Regions from separate parts of the Homo sapiens genome. Here all the other regions are linked to region 1. The links are contacts of gene promoters, found by promoter capture Hi-C in blood cells and fetal thymus (Javierre and others, 2016). All regions are on one chromosome and are shown on one strand. Each heading gives the region's core, a stretch centred on a gene start or on the middle of the fragment in contact. The rest is flanking DNA. Distances are from core to core; before and after follow the strand shown.

Region 1 (5,145 bases), core at 1,299-3,798:
CGGTAATACTGAGCTGCCCAGAAACGCTGAGTTTGCAGGACTCACCCAGAAACAAGGGATACCACCTCCCTGCCCTCACCTGCTGCGGGGGAGATGCATGCTCTGACAAGAAATACTGGAGTAGGGCTGTCACCTGTGCCCAGTGTCGCTAATTCATCCATGCACTTATGAGGCTGCTTCCCCGGTTCCACACCCCTGGCTTGCGGGCCATGCGCACTCAAACAGCGAGGCTACATAACTAGCACCCTCATGATTTCACCCACTTCGGAAGAAGTACACTAGGGGCAAACTTGTGGATGAGGCGGGCCTGTTCTTCCCCCATTTGTCCATTGCGGGAGGAAGTTAAGTTTTCCCATAGGCACCTTCTTACTTGGGCCAGATCAAGCTTTCAGGTAAGCATGATAGGAGAGAGAAATTCTAGCAGAGAAAGTCATTCTTTCCCAGAAGGGATAACTGAGGCCCCAAGAAGTTAAAACAACTTTGTCAAGGTAGGGTCTATGCTATTGCTAACTTCACAAGAGGCCTTATTAACCAACAAGGGAGGGCACTCCCTAGGAACGGATCTGCATTTCCCCACCTGTTCCCGCCTACTCGCCTACTTCTTTTGCAAGCTTCAGTTCACACAGTCCCAACCTCCGACTGCCCCTTAGAATAATACATGGTGACAAACTCTATTTCCTGAACAATAAGCAAACGTCCAGCGTTTCATGTTTTTGCTAAGACGCCTAATGCCGCCAGATAACTTCAGCTAACAAACAAGTAAAACAAGCGTTTAACGAACTCAAGCAAATTCATCTTGGAATAGGAAAAAAATCCCTCAAGCCCTATTTCCTCTTTGTTCCCCACCCCCCTAGGCCTAGTTGGAGGCAATGTAAGAAGGACTTTCCATTGCTCAGGAAAGCAAATGGAAAAAGCCAAGTTTCCCCGGGCCGCAAGAAGACTTGGAGCGCAGGCAAGAACTTCTCCGGAGGGTCACGCGTGTCTGCTACAAGTTCAGGCTCACACGCGCCGCTCAGCTGCCGGCCTGCACTGCTCCACTCTGCGCCCGGCCGAGTCTCGCCCCACGCGGGGAAGAGTGCGCCTCCGGGTCTGGACCGGGTTTCAGGAAGTTTGTGATCTCGTGTGGGGAGGCTCGGACGCCGCTTTCTACTGGGCTCCTGCAACTCCCAATTCCCGACCCACTGCACAAGCGCGGTGCTCCTCTGCGAATGCTGGGCTCGTGCAAACACGTGTAACCCCGCACTCCCTGGGGACGCCCCCTCTTTTGGGTGCCCTCGTGGTTTGGGATTCGGGCCCGGAGCACAGGATCCGGCAGGGCGCGGGAAAATGGGAGCAACCCGTGTCCCGTAGCCCAGAGACCGCGGGGAGGCTGGGAGCGCCGGGCGGGACGCAGGGTTGGGTGCGCGTCGCATCCCGGATACTCACCGGGACCTCTGCAGCTGCTCGAAGGCGCTGGTGCTGCCGCCCTGGCCTGGCTGCTCCAGGGAGCAGTAGTTCTGCGAAGTCGGCCTGGAGAAGGCGATGGGCAGGATTCCCTGAGTGAACGAGTTGAGGCGTCCCCGACTGCCGCTCCCACTCCCGGGGGTCCCGGAGCCCAAAAAGGCGGCCGCCGGCACCTGCACGCTGATAAAGGCATCGTCCTCCTCCAACTCCTCCTGCCCGGCGGCCCCGGACCCGTCGAGCAGCTGCAGTTGGGCACAGGCGGCGAGAGGCGCCGGCCGGGGCGGCTGCCACTGCTCCCCCGACGCCCGGCCGGCGCCCAGGGGACTCGCGAACCCCCGCGCCACCCCGGGGCCGGACACGGTCGCATGGCCGCCAGGAATCAAGGGCGGCAGCGACGAGGGCTGTGGGAGGCAGGGGCCGGACCCAGCGGCTAACCCCGCAGCCGGCGTGCCCGGCGCGGCGAGCGCGATGCAGCCGCCCCGCTCGGCAGCGGCGAGCAAGCTGAACCGAGTCCTCGCGCCGCAGGCGCCGCCGGCGCCCGGCTTGGCCGCGCCGCCCTCCTCGCCACCGCCCCACTCCGCGTCCTGCGGCGGCAGCCGGCCGTCCAGCGAGATGTTGGTGAGGAAGGAGAGGGCAGCCTGGCGGCGCCGCGGGTCCATGCGCGGCTTCCGGGGGGGTTCGGGCGGCGGCTGGGCCGGCGCGGCGGCCGCGGGCTGAGGCTGGGGCTGCGGCGGCGGCTGCTGCAATCCGCTGGCGCCCGCGGCGTCGGTGCCGGCGCTGCCGCTGCTGCAGGCGGCCGTGGTGGCGGCCGCCGCCGCCGCCGCCATTGTGTCCGTCTGCGGCGGGATTTCCGCGATGCCCGGAGAAGCGAGCGGCGCCCGAGCGCTAAGCGGCGGGCGCGAGCGGCGGCGACCCGGGCTGGGTAGGGCGCGGGGATCGGGCGGCGTGCGCGGCGGTCCAGCCCCCCCGCGGGCGGGCCATGCTCGCCCCTCGGTGCTGGGGATGGGGGCGCCGCCGCCCCGGCCCACGCGCACGCCTCGCTACCTAGCTCGGCTAGTTCGGCTCGCTGGCTGGCCGCCCGCCGGTCGCCTGGCCGCTGGCTCGCGGGCTCCGGGGCCGGGTGTCCGTATTTATAGGTGCGCGCGCCCCGCGCTCGCGCTCCAAAGCCCTCTTTGCAATAACACGGAATCACGTGTGGGGAATGCGACCTGGGAGGAAAACAAAGCCGCAGGCGGCGGCCGCAGAGGCAGACGGCGGGAGGCAAGGGGCCACGGGAGGAGGAAGAGGAGGACGCGAGAGCCGAGCGGGTGGTGGGGCGGGGGATCGGCCCGGCTGTCCGGGTTGTCGGAGCTGCCTGCTGGGAGAGTTGGCGACTCCCGGGGCCGCGGAAGCCAGGTGCGGGAGGCGAGCACGTTTCCCCCGCGCGCTCGCACTGGGAATTGGGTGAGCGAGCAGAACCCGGTGGGTTAGGTCCTGGGGCTGTGCTCCTGGGAGAGTTGTGGGTCTACAGGACGGTTATGTGGAGCGTTGCAGAGTTTTGGACTGCGAGCGAGTTACTTGGACCCCGCAAGGCCGTTGGTCCCCGAGAAGTAAATAGATCCTTTTCATAATAACACGGGTAAGTCCACAGCCCCTATGGAGACTGTCCCACCGTAAAGCTATCGCTAACAACCATTGCAGTTGGGTCTATTCATTCCCAGGCCAAGGATGCAGCCCCCGGGATAAATGCACGCCTTGGGATGCATAAGAGCCCAGAAGCACGAACATCTTACATGTGGCCAACGAACTCACGCATCCCCAATCCATGGTATTGTCACTTTTCATCTCTCTCTTAGCAAAGGACAACGCAAATTTTTTACTTTGGCTCTGAAATGTGCTCCATTTTCTGTGAAGACCCAGGTGGGCTAAAATGACCTTACACTCTTTTCCCCTGGTCACCTTGCAAATTTTTGTAGATTATGATCTCTTCTCCCTCATAAACTGGGACCAATGTGGACAGTTACCCTGTCGTTTATCTCATAAGCACGTTTGGCACCTACCATGTCTTCTATAAATACGGGTTCCTGACGGCCCTCCCAGAGCAGTAGCTCTGAATCTGGGAGGAGTCGCAGTCCCCACCCACAACGAATGCTTGTTTTGGTTGGGGGTGGGGGCGGGGGCGGGGACAGGGTGGAGGAGTTCACCTGGAGGGATCTGAAAACGTGTGCGGGTTTCCCCAGGCGGTATGGGCAACTTAACAAATGCAGTAAGGAACAATTGCCACACTGAATTAAGCTCTGTGACACCTAAGAAACCTGCTGCACTTTTGAGGGAGAAGCAATGTGTTTCAGATCAACGGATTAATTTAATTAAAGGTTTAAATTTAGCCCTGGAGCTAATGGGTAACTCTACATTGAAATTCCACTCCATTTCAAGTTCAGGAAAGTAAATTGAGTAATGGAGAGCAAATACACCGTCCAGAGAGGTGCCGCCAACCCGGAGTGCCAGACAGAGAGGGTTTCAGGTTACATTTGCTCAGGACAGAGATGGCACGTGGCCCTTTACATGAACAATCGTTGTTATATTTTATTTTGTGCTGTTTTTAGGCCTTTTGAAAACATGGAGCCTGGTGTCTGTTTACAGCAGCCTCATGTCAGTGGAGTCAAAGCTCAATGGCCAGCTCTGTGAAATTTCACCAGGATTTTAATTATTTTGGCTAACTACCTTGAAACTTCCAAGCCCTTTTATGACAATTGACTTAATTTACATGACCACTGGCCTGGTTGGGAGGCAGTGTTAAGTGAAAGACTCCAACGGTGCTCCTGTAAAATATATTTTCCATCATTCAAAAATGATAAATGTTAATTTCAGAACATAAGATAAGCAAAGAGGAGCAAAAAAAAAGGGGGTATCACTAACAATATCTTCTGTGGAAATAACGTAAAACTTAAATTTTGATTTCTGTTTTGTATTTTCATATATTTTATAGAGAGATATGTATATATATTCTTTTAGCCTGTCACCCAGGCTGGAGTGCACTGGTGTGATCATAGCTCACTGCAGACTCCTGAGCTCAAGCGATTCTCTCTGCCTCAGCCTCGCGAATAGCTGGGACTACCGGCACCCACCACACCTGGCTAATTTTTTTAAAAAAATTTGGCCTGGCACGGTGGCTAAAGCCTGTAATCCCAGCACTTTAGGAGGCCGAGGCAGGCAGATCACGAGGTCAGGAGTTCGAGACCAGCCTGGCCAACATGGTGAAACCCTGTCTCTACTAAAAATACAAAAATTAGCTGGGCATGGTGGTACGTGCCTGTAATCCCAGCTACTGGGGAGGCTGAGGCAGGAGGGCAGGAGAACGGCTTGAACCCAGGAGGCGGAGGTTGCAGTGAGCCGAGATCGTGCCACTGCACTCCAGCCTGGGTGACAGAGCAAGACACCATCTCAAAAAAAAAAAAAAAAAAGAAAAGAAAAAGAAAAAATTTTTTTGTAGAGATGAAGTCTCACTATGTTGCCCGGGCCGGTCTGGAACTTCCAGCCTCAAGCAGTCCTCCCATGGTGGCCTCCCAAAGCACTGGGATTACACGTATGAGCTGTCATACCTGGCCTTGGGTGTGTTTTTAAACAAAAGTGAAATCGGCTGTTTTGTTTTGTTTTGTTTTGTTTTGTTTTTTTGAGACGGAGTCCTGCTGTCTGACCCAGGCTGCAAGCTCCGCCTCCCGG
Region 2 (5,145 bases), core at 1,726-4,225, 460 kb before region 1:
TAAATGGCGAAACCCCATCTCTACTAAAAATACAAAATTCAGCCGAGCATGGTGGCACATGCCTGTAGTCCCAGCCACTCGGGAGGCTGAGGCAGGAGAATTGCTTGAACCCAGGAGGCAGAGATTGCAGTGAGCCGAGGTCACACCACTGCACTCCAGCCTGGGTGACAAAGTGAGACTCCATCTCAAAAAACAAAAAAAAAGACACCTGTGCTGAGTCCTGACTCAGTCCCAAGTCCTTAGTGGGCAGACTACCTCATGTCATACATTAATAAATATAAGGTAGGCTGGGCACGGTGGCTGATGCCTGTAATCCCAACACTTTGGAAGCTGAGGCAGAAGGATCACTTAAACCGAGGAGTTCAAGACCAGCTGGGGCAACATGGCAAACCCCATCTCTGGAAATTAGCCGAGCATAGTGGTGCACATCTGTGGTCCCAGCTACTCGGGAGGCTGAGGTGGGAGGATCATTTGAGCTGGGGAGGTCAACGCTGCAGTGAGCCATGATTGCAACACTGCACTCCAGCCTGGGTGACAGAGCAAGACCCTGTCTCAAAAAATAATAATAATAAAATACATATAAGGTATAACATTTAATTTGACCGGTACTTATTGAGCACATTTTAGACATGCTGGGCATTGTGCTGGAGATAAGGATACAATGATTAATTAGATCTGGACCCTTCCCCCTAAGAGATTACAGTCTAGTAAGGGATCTGGCTGGAAAATGTCTCTAAGAATGAGATAAGGATATAACAAGTAATATTTATACATTTAAAGAAGATTTGTAATACCTTTATATAAAAGAGTGAGTCCAGTGTGGATTTTTTTCATTAGTGAAGGAGAAAGAGTGGGTCAAATGCCCCTCTTTGGAGTCCCTAAAACCACACCAGCTATGGGGATTCACTAATGCCCATCTTCTCTTCTTTCAGGCCAATGAACTTCCGGCAGAACTAACCAAAAATGAACGTATATTGCGTCTCCTGAGAAGTAAAGAAGGTCCCAGAAAGAGCTAACTTAGCTCCATATTTGACAGAAAGATAGAAAGCTTAACCACATTGTCCAAAAAGAAATTGCATTTCAAGCAGTGTTGGAAATTCTTTTATGAAAAAAAAAGATGCCCAGAATGCCCATCCTGTGGGTCCCTGACAAAGAAGAGCTACGCTCTGTGCACGAAGTCAAGAACCAAACAGCTCAGGGACCCTCTTGCCCCTTCACCATGGACTTCTCATGGTGTCCTGTAACTCATCTCCCGGGGGGCCTGGCATGTTCACAGATTCCACAGAAACTCATTTTCAACAATGCTAACTTGGACCTGTCAGTTAAACTCTAAGGTGGACAGGGTTCTCAGTACTAAGCAAGGAGACAGAATGCTTTGTTCCTTTAAAAGACTGAAAAGCTGACCTTCAATGGATTGAGGCACTTTTGCTTTTGTGTTAAATGTAGATGTGCTAAAATATATAGATCTATCATATTTTACCTACATATGTATGTCATTCCAGTATAAAACATTCTCCTCTACCCAAGAACCATAGCCATGATTGTTATAAATCAATGAAGTGTAAACATACATTATTAAAAAACCACTTCTGACATTCCATTATGTGCTATTCAAAGATGGACTATTGAACTATAGAAAAGACAGACTGTGCATTTGTTCGTTGATCCTCATCTTATTCCTGACATGTAAAAATCAATTTTACGTAGAGTCAACATTGTAGGTAGGTTAAAATACCAGTGGCAAATTTGGAAATTCAGAAACTTATAAACCACGAGAAATATATAGGCTTGTCTCTTTGGTCTTTTATTTTGGCTCTATTGTTGGGAATCTATTTCCTATTCTATAAGTAAGTATACCTAACATGCTGTGGAATCTTGAGTTTCCAACACCGTGCTGCTTGATAGAATGACTTTGAGGTCCTTGGATAAAATGTGATATATGCAAGTACAGTATGTTGCTATTACTATTGCAGGAATATAAATAATAAAAGACTGTTATTAGCACTTAGTAAGTCTTCATCTATGCATGTTTTTGAGTTGACTGATTCCAAGAATGAAATATGAGGTTTATTGAATTATTCCTTTGAAAGGGATCAAAACTTATATTCAATGCACTTTATAATTAATGGTGTCTAAATGCCTCAGTCAGTGCCTAACTGCACATACAAAAATAAAACCTTCTTTCTGTAATCTACCAAAATAAACGCAATGGTATTTCTGCTATTTAAACACATCTTTAGCTTATTTCTTCATGTTCTGCTCTGGTTTTCAGTCAGTGTCTATGTAAAGACACTTTTAGAGGAAAATGTTGTAATCCCAAAAGAATTTTTGTTTAACCAACTTTCAGAGTTACTAAAAGGATTATCTTTAATTCAGTAAATAATAGAATATAATCTTCAAAATTAGAAGATATTCTCTTAAAATTTATAACAATTAATGCAACAAAAATCAGCATATTTTGATAAATGTCTCAAGCAAATGAGCAACTCACAGGCCCCACAGGTGCCTACAGCCTGACCAGCTATACAAAAAGCCTGCAACCTGATTCTAGGATAAAATATTAGAAAGCTCTCTGTTGCTAAAACATCCAGATATAAACATTTTGGTGGCTAAAATCAATGCCATTTCCTCATTGACATTCTTTTATTCAGCAAATTTGTACAAATATACATTTTCTCCTGTGCGAATTTCAAAAAGCTATATTCATTTTGAAGAGGAAAATAATATGGCATTAAATGCTTTGTATTTTCCCCTTAGTTAGCCCTTATGGCAAAAATAGTTGCTAATCACTGATACAAAGCAAAACGTTATGGGTACTGATAACAAAGTTCCAAAAGCCAAAATGGGATGAATCACAAACTTACTGTTTTTCACTAAAACATGTAATTGGCCTATTACATCAATAGTTTTAAGTGGGTAATGTTCTTGAACAATATTAGAGCCATAAAATTGAAGCCAGTAGCTTGAACAATATGGAGGCCTTCTTACTGTAGGGAAGAGGTGTCTAGCTTAGAAGGATCACATTTGATCTAGATGAGATTACCCATAGCAGGGAAAATGAATCATCACCTACCAAAGACTGTACGGAAAGGTGTGTTATTTTCAAAATTGCATTTTAGTTTGCACACATGTAAATGATTATTCTATGTTAATCTAATTGACAATTCAGTTAGCTCCGCATCCTAAGACTTAAAACTAGCAATTCCTATGCAAATCATCTGCTTAACTGAACTACAAACGTTTTTCATTAATTCATTCTTTGATGACATATTCCATGTTATATAATAATTCAAAATAAAGTTAATATACTACCCCATTTGCCTTTGCTGCTTTTTTCTTTTTGTTTTTAATCAAGAGTTATTGCTATGTGATTTTTAGTAGCATGGAATTTTAGGGTGAATAATTCAACTCTGTAAATATATTGATATTTGGGACCCTAAATAGATATTTAAACTTTATTTTAGTAATGGACCTATGATTTCATTATCTCTGCTGTAGAGAATGAAATGATTCCAAAAAGTTTTCATTCAGAAAAGAATTCTTGGGACAGTTATTTAAGATGCTGAAAATAGAAAATTTTCTGATTTGTATTATTTATGATGCTCCTGGCCCTTTAGTCCTTTGCAATAACTTTCTCTTGTGAAGTAGCTGGTGGTTTTGCAGAACTGTTGGTGTAGGAGACAATAATTTGCAGCAGTAACATCAGGAATATGGAGATTTACAGGAACATCCTGGCTTCCATCTGCTCCATCCACCCTCTGCCGCCACAAGAAAGCTACGTCTCTTCATAAATCCCACACTGAGACACCTACTCAGAGGAAAAGAGTGCCCCCAAATACCAGGCTACTTAGAACCAGGCAGAGATGCCTGTATTTTGGTGGGGGGCTACAGATTATAGGGGTGAGAAGCTGAGTTCCTAATTTCCTAACAAAGTGCTTTTGGTGCTAGAACTGGATGTTTCAGAGGTAGTGGCCAGGTGAGGAGTCCCGGTGGCTCACGCCTGTAAACCCAGCACTTTCGGAGGCCAAGGCGAGGTGGATCACTTGAGTTCAGGAGATCAAGACCAGCCTAGGCAACATAGTGAGACGCCCATCTCTCTAAAAATAAAAAAATTAGCCGGACATGGTGGTGGTTCACACCTGCAGTCCCAGCTACTTGGGAGACTGAGGTGGGAGGATGGCTTGAGTCCAGGAGGTTGAGGCTGCAATGGTACACTCCAGCCTGGGTGATAGAGTGAGACCCTGTCTCAAAATAAGTAAATCAATAAAAATAAAAGCAGCAACTAAAATTTGTTAAAGGATTGTTACGTGCTAAGCACTTTAGATAGATAATCTTATAAAGTGTTACGCATTTTTTTCATTTACACCTGACAACAACCCTATGAAATAAACACTATTACCATCCCCATCTTACAGTTGAGGTAACTGGCTTTGAAAGACAGTCTACCTTGTAGTGGTGTCTTGGTGCTGTCCTCCAATCTTGGGAATTTTACTTTTGCTTTCTGGGGGAAGGTGGAGGAGGCAGTGGTGCCCAGATGGAGTCACAATTGTAGCATCAGAGCAGTGAAGGTGGAGAATATGGGACATGTTTTTGAAAATACTTGCAGGTAGAGTTAATGATAATTGGTGACAATTAAATATAGAGGATGAAGAAAAGAAAGGAGAGCTAAGAATTGTGCTAAAGTGTGTTAGGCATTCCCAAGATCATCCCCAGGTGTAGTGACTTGCTAGGAAGACATAGGACTCATATATCTAGTTTACTCATAAATATACTCATATACATGGTTACATATACATGTATACTCAAATACATGGTTAAGATTACAGCAAAAAGACACATAGCAAAATCAGCAAAGACAAAAGGAAAATAGAGCAAAGATAGAAGACAGCAGGTGCAAGCTTCTGAGAAACCTCTCCCACAGAATGAGCTTAATTCCTCCAGCAACCGAGTTGTGGCAGCAAGTGTTGTCTACCAAGGAAACTCATTGAAGACTTAGTGCTCAGGGTTTCAACCGGGAGCTGGTCACATAGATCCCTTCTGCCTAGCATTTACCAAAAATCAAGACCTCCAGAAGGAAAACAGGCATTCAGTATAAACCACATTGTTTGCACAAACAGTTAAGGCAAAGTGAATACTTCTTATCAT
Region 3 (5,145 bases), core at 1,154-3,653, 350 kb before region 1:
ACGGCGTTTCACCATGTTGGCCAGGCTGGTCTTGAACTCCTGACCTCGTGATCCACCCGCTTCGGCCTCTCACAGTGCTGGGATTACAGGCATGAGCCACTTCAGCCCGCCGGAAGCTGACATTTGCTGCCGCTTTGTTCCACAATGAACTTGCTGCTTTGAAAGCGGTGACTGAGAGGTTGAGACACTGAGCAGAAAAGGAAAGCTAAGAAGCTGAAAAGCTGTTAAAACTTTTTTTAAGGCAGATTCAGGACTGGGACAGTAAAATCTGGGGTACAGAGCCTGCTAGAGGCAGTCCTGGGGCCCTGGAGGGGACTCTGACCTAGGAACAGGTCAACTAAAATAGGGGGAAACCTTAAGTGCAGCCTCGAGCCAGCTCTACCCTTGATGGATACCTGGCTGCCCTGCCCACTGCTGGGGTTACTGAATCAGCGCTTAGTTCATTAGTTTGTTTTTCTTCTCCTTTCTTAGTTTACTATGAGCCAGTGTTTCCGGAGCCACCAAAAAAGCTCAATATAACTCCTGGTGTTTAAGATAAGCACTTGACATGCTTGTTTTCCTTTTACAGCAGCTTAAAATGTGCGTCTGACAGTTTCTAAAACCTAAAACAACACATAGGCTTTTCTGTTTATTTTTATTCTTATTTTTATTTTAAGTTCCGCTTTTCTGTTTTGCTGAGTTTTGTTTGCTTTAATTTTTGTTTTATAGTCTTTGTTAGACTCTATGACAGATGTCTGAAGGCATATGTAGCCAAATTTGTATAGTGGCTCTCACTACTTGGCATGTTTTCAGGTGGCTTTTACTTTGTTCTTTAAACTTTCTAAAGTCCTTTTTGTTTTAAAATGAGGATGAATAATATTTACAAAGAGCTATTTCTAAAGTATGTATTTGCTGGCAAATCTTGACTACGTATCACTGTTTTGGAACCTGCTTTTTCATTTCAGAAGTGTTTTATGTTTGAATGCATCTTTCTTTCTCTCTTTTCTTTCTTTCTTTCTTTCTTTCTTTCTTTCTTTCTTTCTTTCTTTCTTTCTTTCTTTCTTTTTCTTTCTTTTTTTTTTTTTTGAGACGGAATTTCCCTCTGTGGTCCAGACTGGAGTGCAGTGGTGCGATCTCGGCTCACTGCAACCTCCACCCCCCGGGTTCAAGTGATTCTCCTGCCTCAGCCTCCCAAGTAGCTGGGATTACAGGTGCCTGCCACCATGCCCAGCTAATTTTTGTATTTTTAGTAGAGATGGGGTTTTGCCATGTTGGCCAGGCTGGGCTTGAACTTTTGACCTCAGGTGATCCACACGCCTCGGCCTCCCAAAGTGCTGGTATTACAGGCGTGAGCCACCGTGCCGGGCCTGAATGCATGTTTCTTTCTACATTTGCATTTGCATGTACATATGTATATAACAAGTGTCAGGAGTAATGTATATGGTGATTGTCTTGTACTGTGGGTGATTTCTGCTTTTTTCCCCCTATGGTTTCCAGAAGTTTCAGGAGGGTCTGCAGATGCTGGTAAGACCCCCGCCCCAGTTGGTTTCCAGGTTCTTGACACCTTTTCGAGAAAGAATTCAGGGACAAGTCAGAATGAAGGGAAAGGCAAAAAGCTTTTATTGCAAAGTGATAGTATGCACTGAAGAGAGAAGTGCAGGCATGTTTGTGAGAATGAGTCACACAGAGGGAGTTTGGGTTTCTAATTTTATGGGTGTTTCTTTAATTAGGGGGTGAAATAATCATTAGGTATTTTGGAAGAGGGGGGATTTCAGGGACCCCCCACTGTCCCACACCCCCAGGTACCACCCCCTTTCTCCCTGATTTGGGTTTGCACTGAAGAGTCATGGACATGTCACCCTGTCTCTGTTGCCAAGGCTGGAGTGCAGTGGCGTGATCTCGGCTCACTGCAACCTTTGTCTCCTGGGCTCAGGTGATCCTCCCGAGTAGCTGGACTATAGGCGTATGCCACCATGCCCAGCTATTTTTTTTTTTTTTTTTTTGTATTTTTGGTAGAGAAGGGGTTTCACCATATTGCACAGGCTGGTCTCGAACTCCTGACCTCAGGTGATCTGCCCTCCTCAGCCTCCCACAGTGCTGGGATTACAGTCATGAGCCACCAAACCCAGCCTTCTCCTCCTGATTTTGGGTTTTCTGTTATCCCACAGTTTCTTTGCCTAGCTCTTGTTTAAGCTCTTGTGTGGATTCTTCCATCCTCTTGCGAGCACCCAGTGATCTTCCTATCTCATTCCCCCTTCAGAGATTTCCATCCCTTATTCTTAAGGGTTGATGAGGGAGGAGGTCAGTCATCTGTGTCGTCTTCTTGCTGATTTAAGGGCGCTGGCCCTGCCTACCAAAGGATTGGAAATCTCTGGCTGCTGGTCTAAGGATCCCAGGCTGCATTAGCAGGAGAGTCCCATGCTGAGACAGGAATTGGCTGAAATCCTTGCATCACCATCATCTTTACATGGAGTTGCTGTAACCTAGAAGATATAAACTTTATAAGGAAGTTGAATACGCATGGGCCAAATATTTTTATTATTATTATTTTATTTATTTTTTGAGACAGAGTCTCACTCTGTCACCAGGCTGGAGTGCAGTGGTGTGATCTCGGCTCACTGCAACCTCCGCCTCCCAGGTTCAAGCAATTCTCCTGCCTCAGCCTCCTGAGTACCTGGGACTACAGGCGCGTGCCACCATGCCCAGCCAATTTTTGTATTTTTAGTAGAGACAGGGTTTCACCATATTGGCCAGGATGGTCCCAATCTCTTGACCTCATGATCTGCCCGCCTCAGCCTCCCAAAGTGCTGGGATTACAGGTGTGAGCCATCATGCTCGGCCCAATGGGCCAAATACTAACAATAAGATCACCATTAATGGGCCTAAAAGTGGTAAAACCAGGTAACAGAAAGTAGAGCAGCCTTAACGCATTCCCTTTGGAATCGGCCAAAAGGTTTTCCTTTCCAAAGGTGTGAAGCCCTTTTGCTTGGTCAGCTGTGCCTGAATTCCAAAGTGGGGGAAGGTATGGCGAGGCGTGACTGACTCCCAGCTTCCTGTCATGACCTGAACTAGGTTTTCAGGCTGTTTCGGTTGTTGTTTGGATTCCCTTTGGCCAAGAGAGAGATCCATTCTGTTGGGGGCTTCTAATTTTTTTTTTTTTTTTTTTTTTTTAGTTTATATTTTCTCTTTTTTTGTCAACGCATCCCAGAGGCAGTGTTGATGGCCAAGCTTTCATTCTGGCCCATATTGATGCTGGGGTGGCATGCTACAGGCCCTGGGTCCTTCATGTCCCCTAGTGGGACCCCTATGGCCAAGAGACTTAGAGTCAAAAAAACTTATTGCCAATTAAACATGCTAGACAAGATAGGAATGGAGGTGGGCAGGGACTCAAGCTTCAGCCTGTTTTCCCTTTGCTCCCCCTTTCCCTTTTGTGTGCACTTTTAGGTCTGAAGGTTTGTCCTTTCCTGCTGCCTTCTTTTTTGGCTTCGTTTCTACTTTTGCAGGAGCAGGGTTAGGGGACAACTGTGCCCATCTCCTCCTGGGCTTTTCCTTCACAGCCCTCTTGACTGAGCTGACCTTCCTCCTGGGCATGTTGGTGGTGGGGAGGGGGCCTGCCGGGTGCCTACGGGCAATGGCGAAACCAGAGCCTTCTGGAAGCTGGGCTCACCAGCTGCTGCCGCTCCTCCCACCACCCAAGCTGCCGAGACCTGTGGCAGATTTTTTTCCCTCAAGTTTATAGAGCTATCTGTAGTAGCTCACTCATGTATTCTGTAATGAATACCCCACCTTCCCCACCCCTCCATCTGCCACTTTCTTATCTACCGAATTTGATCTTAACTCCTCAAAAAGCTAGCCAAGTCTGGGAGAAAGTTGGAAAGCTTAGGATGGTAAAAGTAATGCTGTTCCAAATGCAACCTTGTATTATTTTTACACTGGAAACAAATCGGAAAAGAATAAAAACAAGAGGCTTTCAAATTAGTAAACTGATGTCTCCAAGTATAAAACACACTTTGATAACTTATTTTTATGTAATCCTGACAAAAATCCAATAGAAAAATATTGTCTTCAAAAACCTAAGGATCAAGGTTTGAAAATATAATCAGATGAGCTTTTCTCTGCTCCTATAGAGCTTGGAATTTCAAAAGGTGCAGAAAACAATCTCTTCTGATGCCCGGAGCCCAAATGAGCAGTAAGAAATGTACTCCTAACACATCTTAGGGCCTATTGTCTTCATCTTCCTTAGAGTCTCCCGTGCTCAACATTTCCCCATCAGCTGCCTCGCTTCATCCTGCTTTTTGTTCAAAGGTTTTTTAAAAAAGGAAATACCATATGCTGAGGGGAAAAAAATTGCAGGGATGTATGCCACACTATAAACAATGGTCTTTGGAATATGAAGGACTTTTACTTTTTTTTCTGAGACAGAGTCTTGCTCTGTTGCCCAGGCTGGAGTGCAGTGGCACCATCTCAGCTCCTCTGCCTCCTGGGTTCAAGTGATTCTCCTGCCTTAGCCTCCCAAGTAGCTGGGATTACAGGCATGTGCCACCACACCCGGCTAATTTTTGTATTTTTAGTAGAGACAGGAATTCACCATGTTGGCCAGACTGGTCTCAAACTCCTGACCTCAGGTGACCTGCCCACCTCGGCTTCCCAAAGTGCTGGGATTACAGGCCTGAGCCACTGCGCCTGGCCGAGGGACTTTTACTTGAACATTTCTGAATTCCTACAATATTTAAATTCAAATAAATGACTTACTTTTGTAAGCAAGAAAAACTAATTTTTATGAAAAGAAAACTGGTAATTATCTTGTTGAAATAAAAGTTATCTAGTCATCCTTATTTTGATAACTTAATGTGAGACAAAATATCCCTATTTCCGTATTTTATATATTTTCATTTTATTAATTTATTTGAGACCAAGTCTTTATCTATCACCCAGGCTGGAGTGTAGTCGTGTGACCATAGCTCACTGCAGGCTTGATCTCCTGAGCTCTAAGAATCCTCCTGCCTCAGCCTCCCAAGTAGCTGGGACCAGAGATGCATGCCACCACACTCACCTAATGTTTTGTAGAGATGAGGTCTGCTATGCTGCTCAGGCAGATCTCAAACTCCTAGGCTCAAGTGATCATCCTGCCTCAGCATCCCAACGTATTGGGATTACAGGTGTGAG
Region 4 (5,145 bases), core at 1,232-3,731, 340 kb after region 1:
GGCCAAAATTAGATTATTTTATCATGTTTAATTTCCATTCTTCATAAAGAAATGGAGAGTAAGGTTTACATGGTTATTATGTTTTAAAAGATTTTCTAAAAGAATTTTGCATATTAGAAATTCTGTTTTTATGACCTAAGTATAATTATTTTTGGGCCTAAGCCTGAACTACTTTCAAAAGGCAATTTTAAGAAACTCTTAAAAAGATAATACTAAAATTTAAGGCTCATTGCTTGTTATTTCCTACCAGATCAGATTTCTTTAAACAGGAGAGGAGGGTGAGAATAATGAAATGAGCTCATTTTTTTTCTTAGAAAGAAAAAGTCACAAGGACCTATTCCTGTAAGATGGAGAACTCCATTTTTACATCTAAATCTATTTTGTGTTTCTGATTGGCAAAGGACTACGATAAATCCTCACAAGATTTGATAAATCCCCACAAGATCCTATTACAGCAAGTTCTTGGACAAATGCTTATCTCTAATTAATAGTATTTTCATCCATACTGACTATGTGATTGTATGACATAGCTTTGCAAATGGTGTGATACCCTGGTAAAATTAAACTGATTCAATATAATGATTTCCCTAATGAATTTGAGGATAGTCCCAAAGATAGAATCCAGAGAGTCAGCTGATGTTATTTAGGAAAATGGTTTTTATGGTCCATCCAGGAACATGTCATCAGATTTCTGGTACGGATTTGTTTCTTGGAGATGGAAACCAATCCCTTTCTATGATTAACCTTTGGCCGTAAAAGTTCTTGCAATTCTGTGTCTGTTTATGGACAAGAGGAAATGGCGAGGTGTCATAGTCTCTGCAGTCAATCCAATCACCTTTGCTCCTCTAGGACCAAAACAGACACAGCTAAGTTTACATTTTATACTGGTTCATTTTTCCTTCTTAAGTTTCTCTTTTATTGCGCAACTGGAAGAAATGGGTCATTTTATGTTCTCTGGAACCAAAGATAAATTCCCACTTGTTCCCATGACTCCCAGCAGATATCACAAGACCTCTGTCTACTAGACCCTGCCGAGACCGTGGCAACCCTGTGGCTGCCCGTCCAAGCATGCCCAGTGTTTGCTGCCACCACCGCCACAGCATCTATGGTCTTGGGTGCTGGCGGGAGAACATTTTGCATCAGAAACCATGGCTGAAGGTGATCTCGCTAAAAAAATCCTGTCCTGTATGTTACCTTTCACTGTTTCCCACAACTGATTTAGAGCCCAAGGAAAAGGATGCTAAGAGCTTGGGTTCTTTCTCACTGCAAATCTGTGAGCTGGTACTCTTAACCAGCTTTAACTCTTAACCAGTGAGTTAACTCTGTGAGCTTTAACTCTTTACCAGTCACTGCTTCCCCGTACAACCAGCCTGCTTAACCTAGAAGTAAGGGAAAAATCACTCCTTTGCTATTACCCTGCTTTTACCTGACCCCAGACCCCCAAGTCCTAGATATTAAAGTGGGATTTAAAGTCTTTTTTTATTGTTAAATTTGTAGCCAAGGCATGTAGAGGTGTTTGTTCCCTAGTGGGTGGCAGGTTGCAGTCTAATTTTATTTTCATTTTCAAGATTTGGTTTCAGGGCTTAATGTGGGAAATTAGGTGATCATGAATAGAAAGTAATTGTGCAACCATCTATGTCTGATTTATTAAAAAACAAAACTCTGAAAAGGAAAATCACAGCAGTGCCTCATAGTTGTACTTCTATGTTAATATCTGTTTGTCAAAAAGCTTTTCCCCTTTGCACATAATAGGTGATATAAAAGTGTTTCCTAAAATCTCAAATGTAAACTATACCAACAACATGTTCTATTCAGAAATCTGTTTTAGAACAGCTTTTGCATGTTAATGATAAATTCATTTCATTATTAGATTTTTCCTATAATTAGAGATATCTTTTAAAAAGTGAAACAATACCTGCCTCTTAATAAAGTCTTCCTCTTTGTTGAATGAACTAACAAATGAAGACTTCAGGGAAGACTAAAACCATCCTCTACCAAATTCCATGGTATGGCTTGGGACTAGATTGCCTTTGGCTCTGGCAGAACATTATAATCCCTGGAGGGATCTCCTGAATTTAGTAAATGCCTCCTGTGAGTTGAATGACACATTTCTTTGCTAGTGGGTGGGAGTATTCCTACGGTTTTTTTCAGCGTGGATAGTGCCAGGAATCCTAAGGGCTTTGCTTTCAAAAGCAGACAAATAACTCAGTTTTGCAAACCTCAGAGGATCAGTAAGAGAAAGTGACCCAAGCCCCAGAGAAAAAGCAGGGATGTTTAAGGATAGAACCATCCCTTTATTTATCCTTTTATCTCATTCCAGAACCATAAATCTCTTCGCCGTCTTGGATTGCCTCCCTATAACAACATGTGGTAGAGATTTTGGCCCAAGTACTAATTAAACCTGAAGGAACCCCAAGGGGAAAACTCAGTCTTGAGTCTCCCTCTGGTGGACATTTGTAGTAATCCACATACAGCTCTGTCAAATGAAGGGACGAATTTCAGAAATAAATATTCAAAGAATAGTAAACATATTCTAAGACACCAGCACTATGCACTATTATTTTCTATGCATTAATTAAAATTCTTAAATTATTCACCTCTATAATCTTCTGTTTTATTTCCTAGAATTTACCCTCACTTTGAAAATCTGAGCTGGATGCAGTGGTTCACGCTTGTAATCTCACCACTTTGGGAGCCCAAGGCAGTAGGCTCATTTGAGGCCAGGAGTTCCAGACCAGCCTGGCCAAAATGGCGAAACCCTACCTCTACTAAAAATACAAAAATTAGCTGGGCATGGTGTTGAGCGCCTGTAATCCCAGCTACTCGGGAGGCTGAGGCAGGAGAATCACTTGAACCCGGGAGGCAGGAGAATCGCTTGAACCCAGAAGGCGGAGGTTGCAGTGAGCCGAGCTAGCGCCACTGCACTCCAGCCTGTGTGACAGACCGAGACTCCGTCTTGATTAAAATAAAATTTAATAAAAAGTTTAAACAATTCCTTGAAACAAAACAGCCTAGAGTCCCCTCACCCCAGCGCTACAAAGTAAATGAAAGAAGTAAACAGTTTGTCCATCTCCATTTCCATTCTAACACAGAACACCAAAGCAGAGATGATTTAAAATTTGCCATTTGTAATTAACTGCTGGGCAGGATTCCACTGGAAAATTTCCCTCTCACCTTTAACTTGAATCCAGAGGAGGTTTAAGGTGTTATCAGCTCTTCCTCAGGGAAGCTTCCACGCAGGAGGCTTTCTTTGGAGCTCTGTTCCCTAGGTAGCTCCAGGATCTTTGGACTTTTCTTGTGCTTATATAGTTAATGGCCCTCTGAATTGCTCTCTTCAAAAGGGGAACCGTTTGAACTTGGGGGGCGGAGGTTGCAGTGAGCCGAGATCTCGCCATTGCACTTCAACCTGCGCGACTGAGCAAGACTCTGTCTCAAAAAAAAAAAAAAAAAAAAAAAAAGGCCAGGGGCGGTGGCTCACACCTGTAATCCCAGCACTTTGGGCAGGCGGATCAGGAGGTCAGGAGATCGACACCATCCTGGCTAACACGGTGAAACCCTGTCTCTACTAAAAATACGAAAATTAGCCGGGCATGGTGGGCGGGCTCCTGTAGTCCTAGCTACTCCGGAGGCTGAGGCAGGAGAATGGCGTGAACCCGGGAGGCGGAGCTTGCAGTGAGCCGAGATCGCGCTACTGCACTCCAGCCTGGGCGACAGAGCGAGACTCCGTCTCAAAAAAAAAAAAAAAAAAAAAAAAAAAAAAAAAGGAGTAGGGGAGACAGTGAAGAAATGCCTCTCCATTCTTCAGATCTGACTCTTGCTCACGTTCTTCTGTCGTTACACTCATCTTCAGGCTCAGGCTCCATTTGATGTGCTCTGGAGTCTGATATTTGAGCAGGACTCCTTATTCCTCCGCCAGTGAATCTTCTTCCCACTACCAGATTCACAGGCTAGTGTTAATTTCTCTTTACGTATTTTACTATTTTGAAGTTTGTAAGGTTAACCGTAGTTCCATTACTTAAAAAAAAATTCTTTCCCTTAAATAGACAATCGCTATATCCTAGTTATAACTGGTAATGATCTCGGCTTGTAGTACACTTAGGTTTACATAAATGTCCTTTTCTGATACTCTTGCTCCCTAACTAGAATCTAACACCATCTTTTAATTTTTTAAATTAATATACAACAAAATTGACTTTTTTGGGGAGAGTTTTAGCTCTAGAGGTTTTAACATATATAAATTCATGCAATAACCATCACAATCAGGATACAGAATAGTTCTATCACCCAAAATACTAACTCATGCTATCCTTTTATGGTCCTATCCTCCTCCACCTTAACCCTTGACAACTACGGATGTGTTCTCAGTACCTATAGTTTTGCCTTTTCCACAATATCATATAAATGGAAACGTATAGCATATAACCTTTTGAGACTGGCTTAGGATACTATCTTTGATAATTATTCATGTTGTTGTGTGTATCTGCTATGGACTGAATGTTTATGCCCAACCCCAACTTCCTATGTTGAAATCCTAACCCTCAATGTAATATTAGGAGGTGGGGCCTTTGGGAGATAATTAGGTTTGGATTGTGAGGGTGGAGTCCTTCAACGGGATTAGTGCCTTTATAAAAAGAGGAAGAGGCCGGGTGCCGTGGCTCACGCCTGTAATCCCAACACTTTGGGAAGCTGAGGTGGGCGGATCACGAGGTCAGGAGATCAGACCAGAGACCATCCTGGCTAACACGGTGAAACCCCGCCTCTACTAAAAATACGAAAAATTAGCCGGGCGTGGTGACGGGAGCCTGTAGCCCCAGCTACTCGGGAGGCTGAGGCAGGAGAATCGCTTGAACCTGGGAGGCGGAGGTTGCGGTGAGCTGAGATCGCGCCACTGCACTCCAGCCTGGGAGACAGAGAAAGACTCTGTCTCAAGAGAAAAAAAAAAAAAAAAAAAGCTGGGGAGGAGACACCAAATAGAACTCATTTTCTCCTCCTTGTCAGGAAACCATGAGAAGGCTGCTCTTGGCAAGCCAGGAAGAAGGCCTTAGCCAAGAACCGAATTGAATCTAAGGGCACCTTGATCTTGGACTTCTCAGCCTCTAGAACTGTGAGAAATATGTCAGTCATTTAAGCCATCCTGTCTATGGT
Region 5 (5,145 bases), core at 1,845-4,344, 320 kb after region 1:
TTAAAAAGTGGGCGAAGGACATGAACAGACACTTCTCAAAAGAAGACATTTATGCAGCCAAAAAACACATGAAAAAATGCTCATCATCACTGGCCATCAGAGAAATGCAAATCAAAACCACAACGAAATACCATCTCACACCAGTTAGAATGGCAATCATTAAAAAGTCAGGAAACAACAGGTGCTGGAGAGGATGTGGAGAAATAGGAACGCTTTTACACTGTTGGTGGGACTGTAAACTAGTTCAACCATTGTGGAAGTCAGTGTGGCGATTCCTCAGGGATCTAGAACTAGAAATACCATTTGACCCAGCCATCCCATTACTGGGTATATACCCAAAGGACTATAAATCATGCTGCTATAAAGACACATGCACACGTATGTTTATTGCGGCATTATTCACAATAGCAAAGACTTGGAACCAACCCAAATGTCCAACAATGATAGACTGGATTAAGAAAATGTGGCACATATACACCATGGAATACTATGCAGCCATAAAAAATGATGAGTTCATGTCCTTTGTAGGGACATGGATGAAATTGGAAATCATCATTCTCAGTAAACTATCACAAGAACAAAAAACCAAACACCGCATATTCTCACTCATAGGTGGGAATTGAACAATGAGATCACATGGACACAGGAAGGGGAATATCACACTGTGGGGACTGTTGTGGGGTGGGGGGAGGGGGGAGGGATAGCATTGGGAGATATACCTAATGCTAGATGACGAGTTAGTGGGTGCAGTGCACCAGCATGGCACATGTATACATATGTAACTAACCTGCACAATGTGCACATGTACCCTAAAACTTAAAGTATAATAAAAAAAAAGAAAACAAAAAAAAGAAAAAAAAAAAGAACTAAAACCAGAAAAAAAAAGTGTATTTTGTGGTTACCATTAAAAAAATAAATAAATAAATAAAATGAATCAGTTATTTTTAGCTATTAAAAAATGATTATTTTTAGAAGGCAAGATTTGGGAATAATTTTTTTTCTTTCTTTATACTTTTTGTATTATATAAATTTCTTTAATAGCTTCATTTTTAAAATTACCTTATGTTCATGTAAGAAATTATGTTTATAGAAAAGTACAAAAAAGAAAAAATCACCTGTAGGTCTAGCCCTCAGAAAGAGTTATTGTTTTGTTACATAGCCTTACAGACTTTTTTCTGAATATGTGTATACATGGTTACACATACACATATCTTTTAAACATTATTTTAAAACAAATTGAGATCTTATTTATTTTTAAATTTGCTCATTTAGCATATTGTGGACATCTTTTAATGTTAATAAATGTAGATCTGCACCATTATTTTAAATAGAATTTCATTAGATGGCATTCCCATAATTTGTTTTACCATTCTCTAAATGAGCGACATTTACAATGTTCAACATTTTTTACTATAAAAGTAATTATAGGTGAACAGCTGCTATCGTTTGTGTTTGCATTCTTATTTATTATGGTAAGTTCCTAAAAGTAGAATTTGTAGGTTTAAATATATGCTTTTTGGGTGGAGGGGGAGGCAAATTCTGTGTGTGTGTGTGTGTGTGTGTGTGTGTGACCAGGCATCAAGCAGTCTGCTGCAGATTTTTCCACTAAAGAGAAAAAGTGACAATCATCACCTGGGGCCTGAAGGTATGTCTTCAGATACCCAGCCATAAGTGTGGATTGTCTTTGTTTCATATTTTAAAAATTCATTTAGATTCTTGCATTGTACTTTAAAAAAAAAATGTCTTATGTCTCCAAATCTTTGAGTGAATTTGATGTTCTAGGAAAGTGTGTCAAGAATATCCTGTTGTTCATATAACTCCCATTATCCCTTATTCTATGCTTGAAAAATAAAAGGGATAAATCAACAAAAGCTAATTGTTAATTGAGGAATAACTGTCAACCAAGCATTATACTAGTTTACTGTGGGGAATTACAAAGAAGTTGAGAACACAGCCCCTGACTTTGAATAGCCTCCAATTTACTTATTTTCCTTTAACAAGCTCATCAAAGAATTATGCTTAACCTGATAACTGACTGGGCTATGATGAATTTGCTTGACAGGATGGAAAGTCCCTAGTAGCTTTCATTGCACACTTCCAGGACCTTGCTAATGTGTTTGTTTTGGACTTCAAGGCATTATTATTAGCATCTGTAGCATTCTAGAGTCTTGGGAAGGGGGGTCGGGTGCCCTGCTGGCAAGAAGTCAGTGTAATGAAGGTAGGAGTTTTTAGGCTTTTACATTTGGGACAAGTACAGTACAGGAAATGTAATAGATCCTAAATTAACCAGGACTGCCAAATCAGTAGACATTTGTTGTTGTTGCTTTTGTTGTTAGAGTCAGGATCTCACTTGTTGTCCAGGCTGGTCTCAAACTCCTGGTCTCAAGCAGTCCTCCTGCCTTGGCCTCCCCAAGTGCTGGGATCACAAGCTAGAGCCACATGTTACCACATGTCTGGCCAGACACTTTAATGTACATTATCTTAAACACTTAAAATTGTTACTAGGAAAATGTCCCTAGGAAAGGCTCTTATCAGAGATATTAAAGTCACATTCAGAGCCCATTTGGAGGATAACAACAAATAAGGTCCAATGTTGTTTAACTTCTGTGGCTCCATTCTATTTTCCTTACACTGACACTGATGCATAACACAGTCCCAAGAACAGAATAGGTAAATGTTGGCTGAATAAATAGATGAATGCTCCCAATAATGAATCAAAGGTATTAGATTGTATTATCACACTGTACTTACTGAAAGAACTAAAGTATGCTCTTTTGTTTTAAGAAGGCCTTTAACATCAAGGATTGATACAGAAAATGTTTGCTTGTGAACCTTGAGCAAAGCTAGAGAATGCTTTTTCTCATCTTCTGAGCCATGTCTCTCTATAGCTTACCTTTAGTCCCAAGTTTTTGCCATTATACTCCTAGGGTCTGGCTGTAGAGGGTCTCTTGCAGGGAGGATGCCTTATATCTGTTCTTTACTCTCCTGACCTCATACTGGGATCACTGACCTTTGTATAACTCTCTTGCTTAAGGTGCTGCTGTAGAAGCTCCAGACTTTGAACTTGGCATTCTTCCAGTGATGGCAGTGGCTGCTGCCATCACGTCGGCTGCAGCAGGGAGGAGCAGCTGGGGCTGCACACTCCATGGAGCGGGTGGGAGCCACGCCCTTTCTGAGTTGGGGTGGGAGCTCCCTCGGTGCCGCTGCCCCTGCCCGAATTGTGGCTGCAGACCCAGGCCTCCTGCTCTATGGAGCAGGCAGAAGACCTGCCCTCCTGGGTGGGGCTATAGCCACCCAAACTGCAGCTATGGATCGGAGCCTCCCAGTGATCTTGGGTGGGGGCCGGAAACAGGCAGGATCTGCCCTCCTGGGTGCAGCTGCAGCAGCCAGACCCGAGGCTGCAGACCTGGGCCTCCTGTTTCATGGAGCAGGAGCCGGGACAAGCAGGAGCCCAGCCCATTTCCGAGTTGATGGGGCTGGAGCTCCCGCTCTCCTAGGCGCAGGAGGACCCTGGCATCCCTGCAGCCTGTACCTTGGGGGCCCCAGGAAAAACCCTCCCTTCTCCTTTCCCAGTGTCTGCTGGGATATCTGAGTGGGGTTGGGGCCGAGCCCTGGGCCTTGAATGGCAGCGAGAGGCAGAGTCCTGGGTGGAAGGGGGCAGCCCGCATTAAGGCCCCACCTTCAGGCTGGGAAGGGCCTGAAGGCTTGGATCTGGGCTGCCAGTCCTGTGGATGGGAGTGGGGACTCGTGGTGCCTCTTCTGGACCACCCATGGCTGCCCATGGACCAATAGGCACACACTTCCTCCCCTCTGAGGTCCATAAAAGCCCTGGGCTCAGCCAGAGCAGGGCAGAGGATGGCCAGAGGAACAAAGAGGGGAGAGAAAGAGAGGATGGGACGACCAGCTGTAGAGAGGAGCTATTCTCTCTGCTGATAGCTGCAGATGATGGGATGACCAGTTGCAGAGAGGAGTTATCCTCTCTGCTGAGAGCTGCAGAGACGACTTGCTGGCAGAGAGGAGCCGTCATCTCCAGGGCCTCCTCTCTGGGGGAGAGCTGCAGAGCTGCAGACATCAGGATGACCAGTTGCAGAGAGGAGCTATCCTCTCCAGGGCCACCTCTCTGCTGAGAACTGAAAACTCCATAGATGACCTGCCTACAGAGAGGAGCTACCCACTGCAGGTCTCCTCTGAGCTGTTGTAACACTCAGTAAAGCTCATTTTTGTCTTGTTCACCCTTCACTTGTCTGCATACTTCATTCTTCCTGGATTCAGGACAAGAGCTTGGGCAAAGGTGCTGTGGCCACAGAGGTTTCTGGCCAGAAAATTGACACCCCAAAGATCCCATAACACCAGGACATGACTTCTGATGTTTCTTCTGATCCTTGCACATTTTCATTCCTCAGGAAGGAGGCACCTGTCCCCTTACTCTGACCTGAAGCCTTGTAAGATTATCAGCATGCAGCCGGGCGCAGTGGCTCATGCCTGTAATCCTAGCACTTTGGGAGGCCAAGGCGGGCAGATCACGAGGTCAAGAGATCGAGACCATCCTGGCCAACATGGTGAAATCCCGTCTCTACTAAAAATACAGATGGGCGTGGTGGCACGTGCCTGTAGTCCCAGCTACTCAGGAGGTTGAGGCAGGAAGATCACTTGAACCTGGGAAGCAGAGGTTGCAGTGAGCCGAGATTGCACCACTGCACTCCAGCCTGGCAACAGAGCGAGACTCTGTATCAAAAAAAAAAAAAAAAAAAAAAGATTATCAGCGTGACTGTTCCTCACTCAAGTTCCCACCAATGTGGGAGAACCAGACATCCTGATTCTGAATTATTTTTGCCCACGTTATTTCCCAGGACTGAGTTGAGTAGTTACAGGCAGATGTTTAGGCATTGGGTCACATGGATGTGGAATGTTATGCTACCTTTGACTTATTCTGTTTATTTATTTAAGTACATAGAATTGGATTAATTATAGTCCTTGCTTCATAAAATATTATTGTCATTGTTTCATGAATGGCCTTCTTATTTTATTTGCTTATTTATGCTTTTAGAATATAATGGATGCTACTCATTCGAGAACTAAAATATTACCAATAATTTATATCTACCTATATATATATTTTTTTCTATTTTTTTTTAACTTCTCCTT

The links. Contacts are between HindIII fragments. The CHiCAGO score rates a contact against its expected background, and 5 or more counts as called.
Region 2: a contact is called between a fragment that was not itself captured here and the fragment with the promoter of CABLES1 in region 1, in 1 of 17 cell types (neutrophils). The highest score is 5.1, in neutrophils.
Region 3: a contact is called between a fragment that was not itself captured here and the fragment with the promoter of CABLES1 in region 1, in 1 of 17 cell types (megakaryocytes). The highest score is 6.4, in megakaryocytes.
Region 4: a contact is called between a fragment that was not itself captured here and the fragment with the promoter of CABLES1 in region 1, in 6 of 17 cell types (megakaryocytes, total B cells, naive B cells and 3 more). The highest score is 10.5, in megakaryocytes.
Region 5: a contact is called between a fragment that was not itself captured here and the fragment with the promoter of CABLES1 in region 1, in 3 of 17 cell types (naive B cells, total B cells and megakaryocytes). The highest score is 5.5, in naive B cells.

The regions. Positions count from the first base shown.
Region 1 is chr18:23,132,888-23,138,032 of GRCh38, reverse strand. It overlaps CABLES1 (Cdk5 and Abl enzyme substrate 1), which reads right to left and starts at 2,548. Exons shown (of 10, transcript NM_001100619.3): 1 at 1,426-2,548. The coding sequence starts at 2,270. RefSeq lists silencers at 1,680-1,929, 2,030-2,239, 2,370-2,579, 2,700-2,779, 3,540-3,649 and 3 more and an enhancer at 3,200-3,349. The HindIII fragment of the contact is 5,609 bases long and covers 614-5,145 here.
Region 2 is chr18:23,597,097-23,602,241 of GRCh38, reverse strand. It overlaps ANKRD29 (ankyrin repeat domain 29), which reads left to right. Exons shown (of 10, transcript NM_173505.4): 10 at 933-3,316. The coding sequence ends at 1,016. Among named protein-coding and RNA genes, the nearest start is that of NPC1, 13 kb to the right of the region's middle. The HindIII fragment of the contact is 3,850 bases long and covers 1,051-4,900 here.
Region 3 is chr18:23,483,425-23,488,569 of GRCh38, reverse strand. No RefSeq gene overlaps it. Among named protein-coding and RNA genes, the nearest start is that of RMC1, 18 kb to the left of the region's middle. RefSeq lists an enhancer at 158-327. The HindIII fragment of the contact is 1,612 bases long and covers 1,598-3,209 here.
Region 4 is chr18:22,796,517-22,801,661 of GRCh38, reverse strand. The region is part of intron 2 of RBBP8-AS1 (RBBP8 antisense RNA 1); the gene reads left to right. It overlaps LOC124904263 (a long non-coding RNA gene), which reads right to left and starts at 3,432. Exons shown (of 2, transcript XR_007066308.1): 1 at 3,175-3,432. The HindIII fragment of the contact is 1,500 bases long and covers 1,732-3,231 here.
Region 5 is chr18:22,815,011-22,820,155 of GRCh38, reverse strand. All of the region lies in intron 2 of RBBP8-AS1 (RBBP8 antisense RNA 1), which reads left to right. The region is part of intron 1 of LOC124904263 (a long non-coding RNA gene); the gene reads right to left. Among named protein-coding and RNA genes, the nearest start is that of RBBP8, 120 kb to the left of the region's middle. The HindIII fragment of the contact is 7,819 bases long and covers 1-5,145 here.